Regions from separate parts of the Homo sapiens genome. Here regions 2, 3, 4 and 5 are each linked to region 1. The links are contacts of gene promoters, found by promoter capture Hi-C in blood cells and fetal thymus (Javierre and others, 2016). All regions are on one chromosome and are shown on one strand. Each heading gives the region's core, a stretch centred on a gene start or on the middle of the fragment in contact. The rest is flanking DNA. Distances are from core to core; before and after follow the strand shown.

Region 1 (2,635 bases), core at 101-2,600:
TTGGGATACGTGAGTCAACTGAAGTTGACTACTTCCAGTTGACAAGTTTACAAAAAAAAAAAAAGTCCAACGAAAGGTCTCTCGGGCCACATGGTTGGCAAGATCCAAGCTTGCCCAGAAGGCTTCAGAAAATGAAACCAAATCTGATTAAAATGGACATTTCAAAACAACAAGACACGCAGCAGCAAACGCACAGCTGCCATTTCCCGGCCACTTCCTGCGGGAGGCTGGGGGAGGGGCTGTTTGTGTACAGATAGAGGTGGAAAGCTATCCCCTCCGTCGTCCCCCAAAGCAGACAAATCTCTCACTCCAATTAACCCTACAAAGGACAACTGCTATTGACATTGCCTTCTCCTGAAAACTGGGAACACCGGGAAAGAAAGGGATGATGCGGTATCATCTTTCTGCCACGGAAGCGGGGATCCCCTCAGTGAGGAATCTCCTTGGAAAAAGGAATTCCTCTTTATTCTTCCCTTCTGCCCCTCAGCCCAGCTCAAATTGGAAAGCCTCAGCGGAAGCCCTATCAACCTCCATCCCCGGAGTGCGCGATTCTCCCGGGACGCGAGGGCCCCAAGCCAAGCGCAGCACCACCCTCAGCAAGGAAGGCCCTCTCCTGATCTTCACGCTCAAGAGAATGGGTGCGCTCCCCGAGGGAGACACCCTCAGACCCCTGGAAACCCCTTCCGCCCTCCACTCACCACAGTCAAAACGCCCAGCTCCCCGCAAACGGAGCGTTTTAACCCGCCAAGGGAACCCCCTCACCCACCCCTCGCGCTCAGGCAATCCCCACCCCCACCCGAGGAGGTGGAGCCCCTCCCGGGGATTCCACCCCAAGTCCCCCACAGGAGTCATCTCCACCAGCCAGGCGGCTTCTCCGCCTCCTCACTGTCGCCGGGAGCCCCTACAGCTCCTCCTGCCCCCGCGGCCCCGTCCGGGGTCCTCAGCAGCCCCACCAGCCCTGTTCTCCTCCCAGACCCCAGAGCAAGGAGACCCTCGCCTCGGGTTGGATCCTCGCAGGAAATAAGCTCCCGTCGGCTTCCCGCCCCGGCAAGGCTCAAGCCGGCTCTGGAGCTTCTGTTCCCCGAGGGAAGCCTCGGATGAAAGCGGGGCTCCCTCCCCCTCAGGCCCCTGGCCACAGACCCCACAAACCTGAGGCAGCGGCGTCCAGCCGGGCTCGGGGCTCGTCTCTCCCCGGGGTACAAGCGGTTCACATGGCCGCGCTCCGGGCGCCAGAACGGGTGGAGACGCCCGCTGGGGAGGGGGTCTGGGGTCCGGGGTTCGGGAAGGGGGAGGGGGACGCGGCTCAACCGCGGGGCCCGAGAGGAGCCAACATGGCCGGCGGGGGAGGAGTGAGTCGGAGCCGGAGGGGGCGGAGAAGCCTCGGCCGGGAGAGAGTCTCCCCACGCGGCCTCCGCCACAGGGTCCTAAAGCCCGCCAGCCCATCTTTCCGACCCGGACCTGGGTCCTAGCGCCGCTGTGCCTCCTGCAACTCTGGCCACCTTGCCCACCTGGCAGCTCCCTCTGCACCCGCATCTCATGGAGGCAGTGGTCCTGCTTCACACAGGGCAAACTGAAAGGCATGCCACAGTCCCAAGGTTAACTTAAAAGACTAGACCAAACGTCTAGGCCCAAAGGCAGGTGCCACTTCTCTAACAGGCTGGTAGGGGTAAGAGTCAGGGGAATTTCGGGGGCAGTTATTTCCCAGGTAGGGTAATGGAAACGTGGAAATAGAAAGGTTAGTCACTCAGGTCGCGATTCAGTAAAGGGATGGGGAGAGGCAAGAGTCAGCCACCCACTCACCTCTGTCCCTTCAGTGCAGCCTGGTCCTGCCTGGATCACCACTTTCCTGGCGACATCTGCAGGGCCCTGGTCACCGGAAAGGAAAGATTCCTGTGCGTGGGGGAAAGAAGGTTCGGCTCTGGAACCAGACAGCAAAGACCTGAGTGTAGCCTAAATGCAGTCAGAGAAGTAAAGGATAAGCTGAAAACTAATCAGCAAAAAGATGCCACAAATGTCCACCCATTCTATGGTTCTGGGAATTTTTTTCTGACAGGGCTACATAACTGTGTGAAAACTCAGAAAAGTAAAATCTAGCAGAGGACTAGAGTTTGGCTGTCACCTAAAATGTCCACTGCAGGGCACCAGGATGAAGAACAGTGTCATATGATGTTAGAGCTTAGAGAATTTCTAGTTCAGGCCGGACGCGGTGGCTCACGGCTGTAATCCCAGCACTTTGGGAGGCCGAGGCAGGTGGATCATGATGTCAGGAGTTCAAGACCAGCCTGACCAACATGATGAAACCCGGTCTCTACTAAAAATACAAAAATTAGCTGGGTGTGGTGGCGTGCCCCTGTAATCTCAGCTACTCAGGAGGCCGAGGCAAGAGAATCGCTTGAACCTGGGAGGTGGAGGTTGCAGTGAACTGAGATCGCGCCATTGCACTCCAGCCTGGGTGACAGAGGGAGACTCTATCTCAAAAAAAAAAAAAAAAAAAAATTCTAGTTCAACCTTCTCTCCTTCATCAAATGAAGAAATTAAGACCCAAAGAGGTTCAATGACTTCTTCAATGTCAAACAGTGGATAAAATATGACAAGAAAGGAAACCAGGTTTCCTTTCCTTGCAACTCAACACTTT
Region 2 (2,635 bases), core at 51-2,550, 450 kb after region 1:
AGGAGTAAGCTACTGCACCTGGTCTAAAACAAGGACCTTTTTAAAAGTCAAAATGGGCCGGGCATGGTGGCTCAGGTCTGTAATCCTAACACTTTGGGAGTCCGAGGCGGGTGGATCAACTGAGGTCAGGAGTTCGAGACCAGCCTGGCCAACATGGCAAAACCCCGTCTCTACTAAAAATACAAAAATTAGCCAGGCATGGTGGTAGGTGGCTGTAAGCCCAGCTACTCAGGAGGCTGAGGCAGGAGAATCCCTTGAACCCAGGAGGCGGAGGCTGCAGTGAGCCAAGATCGCCCCATTGCACTCCAGACTGGGTGACAGAGCAAGACTCTGTCTCAAAAGAGAAAAAAAAAAAAAGTCAAAATGGGCTGGGCATGGTGGCTCATGCCTGTAATCCCAGCACTTTTGGGAGGTTGAGGTGGGAGGATCACTTGAGGCCAGAAGTTCGAGACCAGCCTGGCCAACACAGCAAAACCCTATCTCTAATAAAAATACAAAAATTAGCCCAGCATGGTGGCAGGTTCCTGTAATCCCAGCTACTTAGGAGTCTGAGACAGAAGAATTGCTTGAGCCCAGGAGGCAGAGGTTGCAGTGAGCCGAGATCATGCCACTTCACTCCAGCCTGGGTGACAGAGCGAGCCTCTCTTGTCTCAAAAAAAAAAAAAAAAAGTCAAAATGGGGCTGAGCTATGGGCAAGAGAAGAGATTTCATTCTCAGAAGGAAAAGTCTAGGCCAACAGTGCTGATATGGTCATCCTGTATTTCACACACACACTCCCTCAGCTGACCTAGGGAAGTCAGCATCAATCATGTTGATACTATGTACCCTTGATAACATGAGATGAAAATGGCATTTTAACTCTGTGGTTTTCCTTCCCAAAACCCATAACACCACTCTAATCTTGAGAAAAACATTAGACAAATTCCAATAGAGGCATCCTACAAAATACCTGACCAGTACTCCTCAAAGCTGTCAAAGTCATCCAAACATCATTATGGGCTTTTTTGTTTTTGTTTTTTGAGACAGAGTTTCACTCTTGTTGAGCAGGCTGGAGTGCAATGGCACAAACTTGGCTCACCGCAACCTCCCCCTCCCAGGTTCAAGCGATTCTCCTGCCTCAGCCTCCCAAGTAGCTGGGATTACAGGTGTGTGCCACCCCGCCCAGCTAATTTCATATTTTTAGTAGAGATGGGGTTTCTCCATGTTGGTCAAGCTGGTCTTGAACTCCCGACCTCAGGTGATTTGCCCGCCTCGGCCTCCCGAAGTGCTGGGATTACAGGCATGAGCCACCATGCCCAGCCCATTATGTTTTTGAGAACTAAACATAATGTGGTGGTCTAGATGGGATCCTGGAACAGAAAAACACATTAGTTTAAAAAAACGAGGCTGGGCACGGTGGCTCATGCCTGTAATCCCAGCACTTTGGGAGGCTGAGGCGGGCGGATCATGAGGTCAGGAGATGGAGACCATCCTGGCTAACATGGTGAAACCCCGTCTCTACTAAAAATAAAAAAAATTAGTCGGGCGTGGTGGCAGGTACCTGTAGTCCCAGCTACTCAGGAGGCTGAGGCAGGAGAGTGGTGTGAACCTGGGAGGCGGAACTTGCAGTGAGCTGAGATCGCTCCACTGCACTCCAGCCTGGGCGACAGAGCAAGACTCCGTCTCAAAAAATAAGAAAACAAAAAAAAACACGGAGGCTGAGCATGGTGGCTCACGCCTGTAATCCCAGCACTTTGGGAGGCCAAGGCGGGCGAATCACGAGATCAGGAGTTCAAGACCAGCCTGGCCACCATAGTGAAACCCCGTCTCTACTAAAAATACAAAAATTAGCTGGGCGTATGGCGGGCACCTGTAAACCCAGCTACTCAGGAGGCTGAGGCAGGAGAATCACTTGAACCTGGGAGGCGGAGGTTGCAGCAGTGAGCCAAGATCAGTGCCACTGCACTCCAGCCCGGTGACAGAGTAAGACTCAGTCTAAACAACAACAACAACAACAAAAACTCAAAGGAAATCTGAATAAACTGTAGACTTTAGTTAATAATAATGTTTCAATACTGTTTCATTAATGGTGCTAAATGTACCATACTAATGTCAGATAATAATTGAGGAAATTGAATGTAGGGTATATAGGAATTCACCATATTATCTTTTCAATTTTTCTGTACATGTAATGTTTCTAAAAATAAAGTTGGCTAGCCTCAGTGGTTCACACCTGTGATCCCAGCACTTTAGGAGACCGGGTCTGAGGATGGCTTGAGCCCAGGAATTCAAGACCAGCCTGGGCAACATAGTAGGACTCTGTCTTTACAAAAATACAAAAATTAGCCAAGTGTGTTGGCACGTGCCTGTAGTCCCAGCTGCTCAGGAGGCTGAGATGGGACGATCACTTGAGTCTGGGAGGTTGAGCCTGCAGTGAGCCATGATCATGCCTCTGCACTCCACCCTGGGTGACAGAGTAAGACCTTGTTGCTAAAAAAATGAATAAATTGGGCAGGTGCAGTGGCTCATGCCTGTAATCCCAATGTCTTGGGAGGCCGAGGCAGGTGGATCACTTGAGCCTAGGAGTTTGAGACCAGCCTGGGCAACATAGTGAAACCCCGTCTCTACAAAGAATACAAAAAAAAAAAAAATTAGC
Region 3 (2,635 bases), core at 90-2,589, 430 kb after region 1:
TCTATATGACCAAGGATTTTTACTTTGTAAATAAAATCTACAGCAGTTCATTCAGAAATGAAGGAGAAAAAAATTAACTGCGGAGTCTTTTACTTAAGGTCCCCAAGTATATTTAAAATATGATTCCATTAATAAAGTCAACTTACAGCTTTTCAGAAAGATGTTTATTGTGTAAAGAAAGGTATATTTATAAATACCAATAAATGAACATCTTCGCCTTAACAGCACCATTCTAATTTAAGAGAAGGTGATAATTGTAGAGGGATTAGAAATAAGTGAAAAACTATGATTTTTAAAAGTTTAAAAAAATGACATGAACTATTAAATCCCATAAGCAGGCAAAATCTTTTCATGATCAAATTAACTGAAACAGCCTATAAACGTACAAAAGGAAAGCAAAACCGACAACACTTACTTAAAAGATACTGCCAGTAACACCTCCAGATCTCTTGTAAATTTTTAAAAACTAGTTGAATGAGGTACAGAGAAAAAGACCAGCCTCCCACCAGGATGACGTAAATGGGACTTTTCTAAGACAGAGAGTAGAAGTGAAAGCAAAAAGTTACAACAGGCTTTCCATACATAAAAGAAGCAAAATGGAACTATGATTTTTTTTTTAAAAAATTCAACCTACTCAAAATGCACAAAAAACACTTCTCTTAAAAAGATGTCCTTTATACTTAAAATGGTACAGTCTGCAACGAACACTGGGAAGATGAAATGCTAAATAACTTAAAAGCCTGGCTATATAATTAAAAAACAGGAAGCAGACTTTAATCCCCCTCTGAGCACAGGATTTTATATAAAAAGAAAGAATTTGTAATCAGGCTCCAAGTTTCATCGTGGAAAGTACCTTTCTGAATCAAGGAGAGTAGGATATTGACTCATCAGCCATCAATACACATTTTCAGTTTTCTAAGATTACCCAGGAAAACAGTCCTTCAGCTATCCAAATTCATTCTAGCTGCACATGAAGATTCTGATACTTACCTTAGGCATAAACTTAGATAGTATAAAAATGATGATTAGCAGAGAGGCCACAATTCCCACAGTCATCCCAGTAGAGTAGTAGAAAATTTGACTTCTGCAGGAAAAAAATGTATTTCATGACCATATGTATATATTTCATACATAGCACTGTTGAAACTAGGACAACTAACCCAGCCGAAAGATTTTAAAAGGTACAAGATTAGAGCAGTACAAGCATCAGAGACATTTCAAATTTGGTTCCAGACCACTGCAATAAACCAAATATTGCAATTGCAGTAAGTAAGTCACACAAATTTTTTGGTTTCCCACTGCATATAAAAATTGTTTACACTATATTATAGTATATTAAGTGTACAACAGCATTATGTCTTAAAAATATATATTCCTTAATTAAAAATACTTTGCTAAAACCTGCTAAAGATCATCTACGCCTTCAGTGAGTCATCATTTTTTTTGCTGGTGGAGGGTCTCACTTCCATGTTGATGGCTGTTGACTGATGAAGGCAGTGGTTTCTGAAGGCTGGAGTGGCTGTGGCAATTTCTTAAAATATAATGAAGTTTGCTGCATTGACTCATCCTTTCAATGAAGATTTCTCTAAAGCATGCAATACTGTCTGATAGCATTTTACCACAACTTCTTTCAAAACTGGAGTCAATCCTCCAACAGCATTAACCCTTAACAAGAGGATCACCCCTCCTTTGAAGCTAGGCACTGACTTCTCTCTCGCTATCAAAGTCCTCAATGGCATCTTCTTCTAGTATAAGGCTATTTTGTCTACACTGAGGAGCTCTTTAATTGTAGCCACTTTCAACAATGATGTTAGCTAGATCTTCTGAATAACTTGCTACAGCTTCTATATCAGTGCTTGGTTCATCTTTTTTTTTTTTTTTTTTGAGACAAAGTCTCACTCTGTTGCCCAAGCTGGGGTGCGATGGCGTCATCATGGCTCACTGCAGCCTTGATCTACTGGGCCCAGGTGATTCTCCCACCTCAGCCTCCCGAGTAGCTGGTACCATGACTTTTTTGTATTTTTTGTAAAGGCAGGGTTTCACCATGTTGCTCAGGCTGGTCTCGAACTCCCTGGGCTCAAGTGATCTGCCCGCCTCAGCCTCCCAAAGTGCTGGGACTACAGGCCTGAGCCACCACGCCTAGCCTACCTTGCACTTATGTAATAAGACAGCTTCTTTCCTTAAATCTCATGAACCAAGAACCTTCACTAGCTGTAAACTTTTCTTCTGAGGCTTCCTCACCTCTCACCCTTCACAGAATTGAAGACAGTTAGGGTCTTGCTCTGGATCAGCCTTTAGCTTTAAAAAAGTTGTATCTGGCCGGGCATGGTGGCTCAAGCCTGTAATCCCAGCACTTTGGGAGGCTGAGATGGGAGGATCACGAGGTCCGGAGATCGAGACCATCCTGGTTAACACGGTGAAACCCTGTCTCTACTAAAAATACAAAAAAATTAGCTGGGTGTGGTGGCAGGCGCCTATAGTCCCAGCTACTAGGGAGGCTGAGGCAGGAGAATGGCATGAACCTGGGAGGCGGAGCTTGCAGTGAGCCGAGATCACGCCACTGCACTCCAGCCTGGGCAAGAGAGCAAGACTCTGTCTCAAAAAAACAAACAAACAAACAAAAAAAGAGTTGTAT
Region 4 (2,635 bases), core at 46-2,545, 370 kb after region 1:
GGGCACAGAAGGAGGCCAGAGGAAGAAGAAAATTCAACACTAGCAAAAACCTGTCTAGGAAAAAGATATTTAAGCCCAAAGGTTTGGCCTGGAGACAAACAGGTACTCACAGATCAGAAAAGCAGAATATAAAAAAAAACTTTTACCCATCTCCTGGTTCTTAGGGGTCACCTGGGCCTGACCCTTATCCCACCTCCTTTCTTCCTAACTAGCCATGGACTACGGGAACTCCATGGAGTCATAAAATTTAGGACCAAATACTAAGGTTCAGCAGAGCTTCCTAGCGGGTGCTGTGGCATCAGTGAGTCACCCAGTGGGTCACTGGAGTGCCAGGATACTAATCTCTGCCTCTGGCCACATGGAGCCTCTGCTGTTTAACCCCGGGTGCCACACAAGTATTACCATTTTCCCCTCGGAAAACAAGTTGGGAATGGCCTCATATTTGGTTTAATGCTCTATGACCACCACCTTGAAATTTTTAATAATTTATGAATAAGAGGGCTCCACAAATGATGTAGCTGGTCCTGAGTACATACCAAGAAAATGGGAGAAGAGGATGTTCAAGGCTTAAACAGAACTTCAGAGTAACACAGAAGAGAGTAGTAAACTAGGTTCCAGGAGAGAGGGAGCAACAAAATCAAATGAACAGAAAGTCAAAACAATTAAAAATGCAAAATAAAATGAATACCTTCTACCAGGTATCCCAGGGTGCCCTCTGCCACAATATAGTGTTTCAAGCAAAACCATTCAGAAGAGGGTGAGCTGGAGGCAGAGGAAGCAGACATGACTTTGGTGGGGTGGGGGGAAACGGGAAGTTCAGGTGTGAATACAGGGGTCACCAACAGGGAGAGGGTTTGGTCAACAAATCTCATGAGCTACTGATCCTATGACGTATCTGACTGGGACCAACTGAGCCACCCTGATCAATCTGATCAGCCCCCGGGGGATCAGGGGATGCAGTTTTCTGTTTCGTGTTTCAAGGGCCAAGTTTCAAGGATCTGCTTTTTGGTTTACTGGCAAAAAGGGAAAACTTCACAGTTTCAGGTTAAGTACACAGACCACCCAGCATCCATGATGCCCTCTGTTAAGGAAAAAGGTTTCTCCAGCACATTTATCTGCTCTCAGCCACTCGGCTGGTTCCTGTAATTACCACCTCTCTCACACCAGCATTTCAAAAATCAGTCCTCACCAACAGTCTGGGAGGGATTGCTCATGCTTGAAAATGTAGCAGACACTTGACTGTAGTCTGTTACACATTTCCTTCTTAAATTCTAATGGTCAGTGTGAGTAAGAAAGGGAGAAGCCAGTCAGCAATGAAGAGTCTCAACACTGCTTTCCTGATGAGGATGTCCTCAGAGGACACTGAACAAGGTGGGTTTAGATGGTCAAAGGTGGACCTTTAAACTGGCCACTGTACAAGTCCCTTCATCTAATGGTCACCCCACCAGAGAGCCAGGCACTCCAACTCTGAGGCTTTATCAGTTCAGGGCTGGGGAGAAGCAGCAGGTCCAACAAGGATGGAGCTTTGGTTTGTCTGACATCTCAATATAAATAAAGACAGGAGGCTTCCAAACTGTGCAAATAGGTCATTCATGTCACTTGTTCCCCTCAACCCTGTCCCCAATCTACTCCATCACAGGAAGGAAGGGGGATGAAAGGCCTGGAATTTAACTGTCCCGAACTTTATAGAACATACACCCATGGCCTAAAGTGTTCCCTGGGTTTATTATGCTAGAGACAATCTGGAGAAGAAGAATTTGCTTAAGGGCTTGACATGTCTTCCCTTAGTTATACCCCTGGTTCTCCACATCTCTGGTCAAGGCTGTTCTCTGGAATATGGCTACTTGCTGGGGAGAAACTCATTTTCCTAAAGTCTCTTATACAAAAGAGATGCTGGGTAATGTGTATACAAAAACAAAAATAAATAAATATTAATGTCCAAAAAGGCTTTGTGAGTTAATGAAAACCACTTGCTTGTGAAACAGCCCGGGGTGTTGCTGAATCCCACCAGGGGCAGTGCCAGGGCTGAGGCCAGGGACTCCCAGAGCTCACCTGAGCAGGGTGAGGTAGTATGAGCTACTGAGGTGGCACCTCACAAGTATGCAAGATCGAGGGCCCTATCCCTCAAGACTTCTTTGGGCAAAGCCCCTTAGAAAACCAAGTAAGAGTGGAGCTAACCAGCTGCGTGGGCTGTGCCGGCACACTCTGCAGCCACCCACGGAGGGCCTGAACCAGCTGCCATCCAATAGCGCCCCCTGGAGGTGATGGCAACGACAGATCAGGATAAATTCCAGCAGGTCAAAGGTGAGCTGACAAAGCTCCGGCACTGTTAGCACAAAGTAAACAGGTTACCCGACTAGGACAGACAGTCAGAACGCACACCCTGCTACACACCACCAGTTACTCAGGTCCCTTTAATCCTGAAGGGCTCGCGGTCTGCCACTCCACCACTTCATGGAGTCAGCTCATCTACACCACGGGCCAAACACTTCTGGACGGGAGACCAGATATAAATTAAGGCAAGGCTGCTGCTGTCAGATACATCCCCACCTCTCCACCAAGACACTCATGGCCAACAGAAGTGGCCAAAACAGATGACTATATCAAAGTGGTTCCCTATCCTCTCTGCCCCACA
Region 5 (2,635 bases), core at 60-2,559, 270 kb before region 1:
TTTTAATAGCTTCAATAAGTGGGCCTTTGTGCTTTAATGGGAATTTTCTTTCTTTTTTTTTTTTTTTTTTTGAGACAGGGTCTCACTTGGTCACCCAGGCTGGAGTGCAGTGGCATGATCTTGGCTCACTGCAGCTTTGACCTCTCAGGTTCAAGCCATTCTCTGCCTCAGCCCCTCAAGGAGCTGGGACTACAGGAGTGTGCCATCATGCCAGCTAATTTTTTGTAGAGATGGGATTTTGCCATGTTGCCCAGGCAGATCTCAAACTCCTGAGCTCAAGTAATCCGCCTGCCTCAGCCTTCCAAAATGCCGGGATTAACAGGCATGAGCCACCATAACCAGCCTAATGGTAATTTTCAAATACACACTAGAGTAGAGTGAATAGTACAAGGATCACCATCCAGCTTTAACAAACATTACTATTTCCACAATCTTATTTCATCTATCTCCCTAATTCATTTATTTTGCATTTATGTGTGTGTTTGTTATTTATATTTGATTGTGCTAAAGCATTTAAAGATCAGTGTTGATGTTAAGTATTTATTACAGCATGATCCCTGCTGGCTCTGAAGCTTTTTTTTTTCTTTTTTTTTTTTTCTTTTTTTGAGATGGAGTCTTGCTCTGTCACCCAGGCTGGAGTGCAGTGACACGATCTCGGCTCACTGCAAACTCTGCCTCCCGAGTTGAAGGGATTCTCCTGCCTCAGCCTCCCGACTAGCTGGGATTACAGGCGCCCACTACCATGCCCAGCTAATTTTTGTATTTTTAGTAGAGATGGGGTTTCACCATATTGTCCAGGCTGGTCTGGAACTTCTGACCTCAGGTGATCTGCCCACCTTGGCCTCCCAAAGTGCTGGGATTACAGGGGTGAACCACCATGCCCGGCCACCTGAAGCTTTTTTAGGAGCCAAATCTTTTTGGTGGTCAGGTAAGTACACCATATAAACTGCCCTCCATATAGGAAGGAGGAGCTCCATTCTAGAAGACATCTAAATGCTGTGCAATGGGTGGCTCAATCCCAAGAATATGACACGTTTATGACCTGTGAATCTTGAATATGATTATAGGTTATCAACTTTGTGAGATCCTGAAACTTCACTTAAAATTGTTGCCTGTAATCCCAGCTACTCAAGAGGCTGAGGCAGGAGAATGGCTTGTACCCAGGAGGCAGGGGTTGCAGTAAGCAGAGATCACATCACTACACTCCAGCCTGGGTGACAAAGCAAGACTCTGTCTCAAAAGAACAACAAATTGGTTTTTGCCTGTCACCAAGCAGGCTGTCCCATGCATCTTTCTCCCCACTGTTCCCTGCTCACTGCCAGCTGGTGTCTATTTAGGAAACTGAAACTTATGCTTGTTGCAGCCTGAGCCTAACAGAACAGAATTCATGCATATTTGTGGTCTAAAAAGGTCACATGATTTTATTACAAAATAAAGAGAAATGCTTGGGGTGGGAGAGTCTTCTACTAACATGAATAACATCAGCTGCCTTTCTACCTCCAGCAGGAACAAGGGAAGGGAGGGATTGGGCAGGGGCTATTTTCATTTTAACTCTTTTAGTAGTGCTTGATTTTTAAAACTATGTATCTGTATTGCTTTTATGATACCAAAAAAAAGTTAAAAAAATGATCAGGTGGCCAGGCATGATGGCTCATGCCTGTAATCCCAGCACTTTGTGAGGCCCACAAGACGAGAGGATGGCTTGAGCCCAGGAGTTTGAGACCAAGCTTGAGCAACATAGTGAGATTCCATCTCCAAAAAAAAATTAATGATGAGGTCCCAATTCTTGAGGATTTAAGTGTCTGATATTAAAGGAGCAAGTCAGCAAAGATTCAAATATGAAAACAAAACAAAAAACCTGGTCTCCCCAAATGGATTGCAAACACTGAGGTTAAGGGCTGAAACAATTTTTTCTCATTATCTCTCATTCTTAGGCACATATTTTGCACTCAAGAAGCTTTTCTGAAATGAACTGAATTTTGTGTGTGACCTTAGGCAATCGTTTCATCTTTCAGTAGCTTATACTTTTTAACAAAACAAGGATAATAGATTTATCTATCTTTGTTTTTAGATTTATCTATCTTTGAACATCGTTTTTTGGTGAAGATAAAAAATAATGCAGAGCAGAGGGAAAAACGTCAGATACCGAACCAACATAACAATGCCAGATTCCGGGTCTCGGAAGCTGCAGGGCAGTTTTGGGAGAGGGGCATTAGGGTTAGGGAGATAGGCTGGACAGAAGAAGATCGAGGACCGAGCAGGCGACAGCTCCTATTTCAATCTGGGGACCGAAGCTACCCTCTCCAGGGGGTAACCCCTGGGGCCAGTCGCCCTTCCCTCGGAGGAACTCTCACTCTCACCCCCACCCCTACCCCAGCACACCCTCTCAGGGCCCGTACCTGATTAGGGTTGCAGTCCCCGCGCCCTCCAATGGCTCTGGTCGCGACTTCCCGTCCCTAGTATGAGCTCGGGTACTAGAACCTCGCGCCCCGCCTACAACTTCGGCTAACCCCCCTCGGACCCGCCCCCTTGTAGTTGGCAGCGGAAGTCCGGAGCGGCCCCCATTCCCAGCCGCCACCCCGACACTGGCTGCCATTCAGTCAAGCCCTTCCCAGACTGCGAGCTCACTGGCGCC

Evidence for each region. Contacts are between HindIII fragments. The CHiCAGO score rates a contact against its expected background, and 5 or more counts as called.
Region 2: a contact is called between a fragment that was not itself captured here and the fragment with the promoter of BAZ2A in region 1, in 8 of 17 cell types (fetal thymus, total CD8 T cells, naive CD8 T cells and 5 more). The highest score is 8.5, in fetal thymus.
Region 3: a contact is called between a fragment that was not itself captured here and the fragment with the promoter of BAZ2A in region 1, in 5 of 17 cell types (naive B cells, total B cells, naive CD8 T cells and 2 more). The highest score is 7.2, in naive B cells.
Region 4: a contact is called between a fragment that was not itself captured here and the fragment with the promoter of BAZ2A in region 1, in 4 of 17 cell types (megakaryocytes, naive B cells, endothelial precursors and 1 more). The highest score is 7.5, in megakaryocytes.
Region 5: a contact is called between a fragment that was not itself captured here and the fragment with the promoter of BAZ2A in region 1, in 1 of 17 cell types (endothelial precursors). The highest score is 6.4, in endothelial precursors.

What each region holds. Positions count from the first base shown.
Region 1 is chr12:56,628,976-56,631,610 of GRCh38, forward strand. BAZ2A (bromodomain adjacent to zinc finger domain 2A) reads right to left here and starts at 1,351. Exons shown (of 29, transcript NM_001300905.2): 1 at 1,150-1,351. RefSeq lists a silencer at 938-1,287 and enhancers at 1,508-1,557, 1,588-1,657. The HindIII fragment of the contact is 7,835 bases long and covers 108-2,635 here.
Region 2 is chr12:57,080,242-57,082,876 of GRCh38, forward strand. It overlaps a transcript of NEMP1 not described here. Among named protein-coding and RNA genes, the nearest start is that of NEMP1, 2.8 kb to the left of the region's middle. The HindIII fragment of the contact is 3,582 bases long and covers 1-2,635 here.
Region 3 is chr12:57,063,656-57,066,290 of GRCh38, forward strand. NEMP1 (nuclear envelope integral membrane protein 1) reads right to left here. Exons shown (of 9, transcript NM_001130963.2): 5 at 991-1,084; 6 at 416-530. Among named protein-coding and RNA genes, the nearest start is that of NEMP1, 14 kb to the right of the region's middle. The HindIII fragment of the contact is 9,125 bases long and covers 1-2,635 here.
Region 4 is chr12:56,999,355-57,001,989 of GRCh38, forward strand. ZBTB39 (zinc finger and BTB domain containing 39) reads right to left here. Exons shown (of 2, transcript NM_014830.3): 2 at 1-2,635. Among named protein-coding and RNA genes, the nearest start is that of ZBTB39, 5.9 kb to the right of the region's middle. The HindIII fragment of the contact is 2,971 bases long and covers 1-2,635 here.
Region 5 is chr12:56,357,659-56,360,293 of GRCh38, forward strand. STAT2 (signal transducer and activator of transcription 2) reads right to left here and starts at 2,449. Exons shown (of 24, transcript NM_005419.4): 1 at 2,400-2,449. RefSeq lists enhancers at 1,316-1,515, 1,347-1,516, 2,592-2,635. The HindIII fragment of the contact is 832 bases long and covers 894-1,725 here.